Regions from separate parts of the Homo sapiens genome. Here region 1 is linked to region 2. The links are contacts of gene promoters, found by promoter capture Hi-C in blood cells and fetal thymus (Javierre and others, 2016). All regions are on one chromosome and are shown on one strand. The core of a region is centred on a gene start or on the middle of the fragment in contact, and the rest is flanking DNA. Distances in the headings are between cores, read along the strand shown.

The links. The method cuts DNA at HindIII sites, captures the fragments that hold promoters and counts their contacts. A CHiCAGO score of 5 or more calls a contact.
Region 1: a contact is called between a fragment that was not itself captured here and the fragment with the promoter of GSTM4 in region 2, in 11 of 17 cell types (M2 macrophages, endothelial precursors, megakaryocytes and 8 more). The highest score is 10.7, in M2 macrophages.

What each region holds. Positions count from the first base shown.
Region 1 is chr1:109,767,035-109,770,367 of GRCh38, forward strand. The region is part of intron 1 of LOC124904258 (a long non-coding RNA gene); the gene reads left to right. Among named protein-coding and RNA genes, the nearest start is that of EPS8L3, 4.8 kb to the left of the region's middle. RefSeq lists an enhancer at 2,545-3,333. The HindIII fragment of the contact is 5,200 bases long and covers 1-3,333 here.
Region 2 is chr1:109,654,849-109,657,348 of GRCh38, forward strand. GSTM4 (glutathione S-transferase mu 4) reads left to right here and starts at 1,251. Exons shown (of 8, transcript NM_000850.5): 1 at 1,251-1,577; 2 at 1,864-1,939; 3 at 2,367-2,431. The coding sequence starts at 1,542. RefSeq lists enhancers at 969-1,018, 1,892-2,477. The HindIII fragment of the contact is 5,301 bases long and covers 1-2,500 here.

The sequences.
Region 1 (3,333 bases), core at 498-2,997, 110 kb after region 2:
CGTAAAGGGTCTGTGCTGAGGAGGATTAGTAAAAGAGGAAGGCCTCTTTGCAGTTGAGATGAGGAAGGCCTCTGTTTCCCGCATGTCCCTGGGAACAGAATGTCTCGGTGTAAAGCCGACTGTTCGTTCTATTCTGAGATAGGAGAAAACCGCCCTGTGGCTGGAGGCGAGATATGCTGGCAGCAATACTGCTCTGTTACTCTTTGCTACGCTGAGATATTTGGGCAAAGAGAAACATAAATCTAGCCTACGTGCACATCCGGGCACAGTACCCTCCCTTGAACTTATTTATGAACAGATTCTTTTACTCACATGTTTTCCTGCTGACCTTCTCCCCATCATCATCCTGTTCACCCTGTTCTCCTGCCACACTCCCTTTGCCGAGATAATGAAAATAGTAATCAATACATACTGAGGAAACTCAGAGACCAGCACCGGTGCAGGTCTTCGCATACTGAGTGTGCTGGTCCCCTGGGCCCACTGTTCTTTCTCTATACTTTGTCTCTGTGTCTTCTTTTCTCAGTCTCTCGTCCTACCTGACGAGAAATACCCACAGGTGTGGAGGGGCAGGCCCCCTTCAGGTCCCTGAGGACCCAGATTGTTTTCTGCCACTGTCTAGAGGAGAGAAGGGCTTGTAAACAAAAGCACTGTAGTATGCAGGCATAAAGAACCTTACTCGGCTTGGGGGTGTCAGGGAGGACTTCTCAGATGAGGAAATGCAAGGGCTGGCCCTTCAATGACACACAGGAGTTCAGCCAAGAGGTGAAGTGGGCAGGGAATTGCAGGCAGAGGGATTGCAGTCCTACTGGATGAAGCGGCCTGGGGAGAAGATGGGTATGGCGTGAACTGTGTGTGTGCACGCGTGTGTGTGCATGTGTATGTGTATGTGGCGGGGAGGTGGTGGCAGATGACAGCATATGTGTGCCGTCATCACCTGGTGGTGAGTAGAGCCATTGAATGGTTTTGCATGGAGATGCAACAAGAAGGCTACTGGGTCTTCTGTCTTGTGGAAGACGCTGCCGCTTGCTGGTTCTCAGCATATAAAGAGACCCAGGTGCACAGGCTTTAGGCTAAGGGGCCAAGGAGCCCCTCCCACCACCCTGGCCTGGGCCAAGAAGCAGGGTGGGTTCCTTGGAAGCTCCAGAGCAGGCCCTGGTCAGAGCTGGGAAACTCTGGAGGGCTCTGAGGAAAAGAGCTCTGTGTTCATGGATGACCATGCAGGGGGTAGGGCAGGGCCCTGGCATTCAGAGGTGAATGGGTGCCGCCTCACCTTTAGAACCAGACCCCAGAGCAGGGTCCAGCCAGCACCTCTTGCTGGTGGACTGCATGGATGAGGCAGCCTCAATGTCAATCAGGGGCTGATTGACAACTCTTCTTCCCAGGCCGCTTCATCCAGTAGGACTGCAATCCCTCTGCCTGCAATTCCCTGCCCACTTCACCCCTTGGCTGAACTCCTGTGTGTCCTTTAAGGGCCAGCCCTTGCATTCCCTGAGTCATGGTGGTCCTGTCCAGGGGCTGACACCTGGCCCTGGGGCTGCTGGGGAATCACAGAGACAGCTCCCATCCCTGCCCCTGCTTTCCCCAGCCCTGGCACAGGGGTAAGTGGCTTCTACGAGCCAGGTGGAGACATAAACAAGAGAGATGATGTCCCTCCCTCGCAACTAACCTGCCAAGGTAGAAGAAACAAATGTATCTGAAGATAATCAAGGTCCTGACAAGTGACAAGAGAGAAATAGAGTGAAGTGGATGATGGCATGGGGGTGGGAGGGTGTTTGGAAGCACGACGTCGGAGAAGGCTTCTCTGAGGAGGGGAGCTTCAAGCTAAGCCAGGGATGGGAAGGAGCCTGGGAGAGGGGGCCAGCAATGTGAAGGGCTTGCAGCTGAGAAGGAACGAGCTGGCGGAGAGGTGACCGAAATGGGGTGGACAGGGGCCAGAGCACACAGGGCTCCGTAGACCATGGCCAGGAGCCTGGTTTTTATTCCAAGGGCAGTTGGAAGACACGGAGGGGTTTTAAATGGAGGAGTGGCATGATTGGATTTATGTTCTAGTCACAACTCTGGCTGGGGTGGGGAGAATGGGCTGTGGGGGGAGTGGGGGCGGACTCAGGGAGACCACAAGCAGCTGCTGCAGAGAGGGTGGTGAGGCCTGGACATGGCAGGGCAGTGAGGATGGAGACTTAGGCTGCAGGTGGAACGGATGGGACATGCTATGGATTAGAATGGGGGTTGAGAGGGGAAAAAGGACCTATTAGGACTCAGGTTTTTGGCTTGGACAACTGGGAGGGTTATGGTGACATCTGGTGAGATGGGGAAACCGAAGAGAAGAGGGATTGGGAGGCAGGGGGATATGAAGAGTTACTGTTCCATTCTGGATGGCCTCAGTTTGAGAGGTGTTTTGGGCCTCTGGGTGGAAGTAGCAGGAAGGCAGGGGCAGGTGTGAGTCAGAAGCTCAGCAGAGCAGGATGACCACATGCAGGCATTCAGAAGCATGTGGAGAAAGATGATTCAATGATGCGGGGAACGTTTGCAGTGTAGAAGACAGTAGATACTTGGCAGCTGTAAATACACGAATAACATTCAGAGACCTAAGACTCACGAGACCACATGCGGGAAAGTGTATAGATAAAGAGAAGGGGGCTCACGACTCAACCCAGGCGCTCCAACATTAAGAGATTGGGAAGGATGAGGGGAGACTAAGGGGCTGCCAGTGAGCAGCAAGGAGAGCTGGGAAGAGAGTGTTTCAGGAAGGAGGGGTGGACACCTGGGCCAGGTGCTGCTGGGAGGTGGAGGAAAGGCTACCATCTGTGGGTTTGCAGTGGGGGCTGGAGCCAGCTGGGGACGGCTGAAGAGTGTGAGGGTGAGGAGGTGGGCTGTGAGTGAGTCGCCGAGTGTAGACAGTGGGCATGGGAGGCTTTGCTGGGGATGGGATGGTGGGCCAGGGATGACATACCAGAAACTTGTTCAGATGTGTTCAGGGTGGAAGACTTGGCATAATGGCTAGTGGGAACACACTACTGCAGAGACAGATGAGACAACAGAGATCCTGGGCGCATGGCAGGAGGGCGGTTTCTGTGGGAGGGCAGGGGAGAAGGTGGGCTTGTCTCTGGAGCCTCTGGTCACACCTGGGCTAGACTCTGCCATGCTGCCCACCCCTCCACCTGCCTGCCCTCCTCGATAAAGGCAGACGAAGGGCGAGTGCGTGATTTGAAGGCAGGGGGGTGATTTGTAGCCCCACAATTACAAGAGGCCCAGTGGCTTAAGTTTTCAGGAAAGAAGGCCAGGCCTAACGTGCTTCCAGAAGCTGCTCTGTCCGGGGATGGACTGGGGTTGGGA
Region 2 (2,500 bases), core at 1-2,500:
CAGGCACCGCTTCTCTCTCCTACACTCAACCCCTCTCCCACTCCACTGCCTCTCAGTGTGCAAAAACAGTAAGAAGTGTCCCGTATTTTCAAAATCTCTCCCCTGTAGTTCCCACCTGACTTCTAGTCGTAGGTGGCCAAAGTACAGTGTTTTTGAAGGATTGTTTTATTCCCAGTGCCTGGAATATGGTAGGATCTCAACAACTGTTGTTTCAATAAAGGAATGACCAAATGGGTGAATACTAATGTAACAATATCAATTCTGTTTCTTTCATAATTATTCTCATAAGTGTTAGCTTTCTTAAAAAATCATCTTCACAATTGGACCTAGACATTTTATCTTTCCCAGCTCAAGATGGATAAACTCAGAATGACAGGCCAGGCACCGTGGCTCATGCCTGTAATCCCAGCACTTTGGGAGGCGGAGGCGGGTGGATCACTTGAGACCAGGAGTTCAAGACCAGTCTGGTCAACACGGTGAAATCCCATCTCTACAGAAAATACAAAAAAGTTAGCAGGGCGTCGTGGCGCTCGTCTGTAATCCCAGCTGCTCGGGAGGCTGAGGCAGGAGAATCGCTTGAGCCCGGGAGGCGGAGGTTGCAATGAACCGAGATCGCCCTACTGCACTCCAGCCTGGGCAACACAGCGAGTCCCCGTTCCAAAAAAAAAAAAAAAAAAAAGACTCAGAATGACACATTCTTAATGTCTTAATGTATAATGAGAAGTATAACTATTCAGAAGTCCAAGCACTTGTGTGTGCATGGTGCTATCGTCTTGCTGTAGGCAAACCTACATGGGAATCCACCTTGACACATAGGCCACTTCCTGAGCCTGGACCCAGTCTCAGAGCTGGGGAACTGGCCCAATGCAAAAGGGTCGGGAGCATCTGCAACAGAGACTGAGCTCTATCAGCTTCGGTGACATAGCCTCCATTCACGCTCCCCAACTCAGCAGAGAGAGCACACCATCAGACTTCTAAGACTTAGTAGCCAAGAAGTGTTGAATTAAACTCTCTGAGACCTCTCTTTAGTCTGACCCTGGCAGCCTCAGTCTCCCAGAGCCTGTGGGAACTCGGCAGCCGAGAGGCAGAAGGCTGGGCGACGTCCGGAGAAGAAGAAACGGGGGAAGAACTTTTCTCTTACGATCTGGCTTTACTCTCACGCGCACAGCCGAGTCCCTGGGGACCCAGCAGAGGTCCGAAGCGGAGCGGGGCGGGGCGGGGCTACGGAAGCTGGCGAGGCCGAGCCCCTCCTAGTGCTTCCGGACCTTGCTCCCTGAACACTCGGAGGTGGCGGTGGATCTTACTCCTTCCAGCCAGTGAGGATCCAGCAACCTGCTCCGTGCCTCCCGCGCCTGTTGGTTGGAAGTGACGACCTTGAAGATCGGCCGGTTGGAAGTGACGACCTTGAAGATCGGCGGGCGCAGCGGGGCCGAGGGGGCGGGTCTGGCGCTAGGTCCAGCCCCTGCGTGCCGGGAACCCCAGAGGAGGTCGCAGTTCAGCCCAGCTGAGGCCTGTCTGCAGAATCGACACCAACCAGCATCATGTCCATGACACTGGGGTACTGGGACATCCGCGGGGTGAGTGAGGGTCCGCTGCACTGTGGGACCGGGCGCGTGGGCGGGAAGTGCCGAGCGGCTGGGGACCGGCTCTAGGGACGGTTCCCTCCTTAGGGCTATCTCTCACAGGAGGGCCTGTGCATGCCTGTGTGTGTGTGTGTGTGTGTGTGTGTGTGTGTGTGTGTGCGTGCGCCGGGGTGGGGGGGGGGTGCAGTGCAGTGTAGACTAGGGGCTCACCTGGTGCAGAGAAAGTCACCAAGTCAGGGACCCTCCATCTCTGACACGACCTGCGGGCCATCTCTTCCAGCTGGCCCACGCCATCCGCCTGCTCCTGGAATACACAGACTCAAGCTACGAGGAAAAGAAGTATACGATGGGGGACGGTAATGACACCCTTGTGTCCGGGCTCTGCCCACTCACGCTGAGTTGGCACCAAGCAACCCATGGTGGCCACCTGTGGCTACCTCTGCAGGCCTCCCCTGCTGGAGCTGCAGGCTGTCCCTTCCCTGAGCCCCGGTGAGGGAGTCCTGTGGCCTTGCAAGGCAGAATGCTGGGGCGGGATGCTGGGCCCCCTGTTTAATTGGGTTGGGTGTCCCTCAGAGCTTCCCTAAACCCTGGAAGCCTTAGCCGTGTGGGGTCCAGAGCCCTCAGCGGGATTCTTTGTCCCTGAACCCTGGGATGTGGGACTGAGTGGTCAGATTCTAGATCCACCTGTCTCAGGGATCTTGCCACTGGTTCCTTGGGAGGGTCCCCGGGAAGGAGGGCTGGGCTCTGGGGAGGTTTGTTTTCACTTCTTCTTCCCCACGGCAGCTCCTGACTATGACAGAAGCCAGTGGCTGAATGAAAAATTCAAGCTGGGCCTGGACTTTCCCAATGTAGGTGCAGGGGAAGGGGCGGTTTTGGGGGAAAGTGCGACGTGTCTCTGACTGCATCTCCTCTCCCCA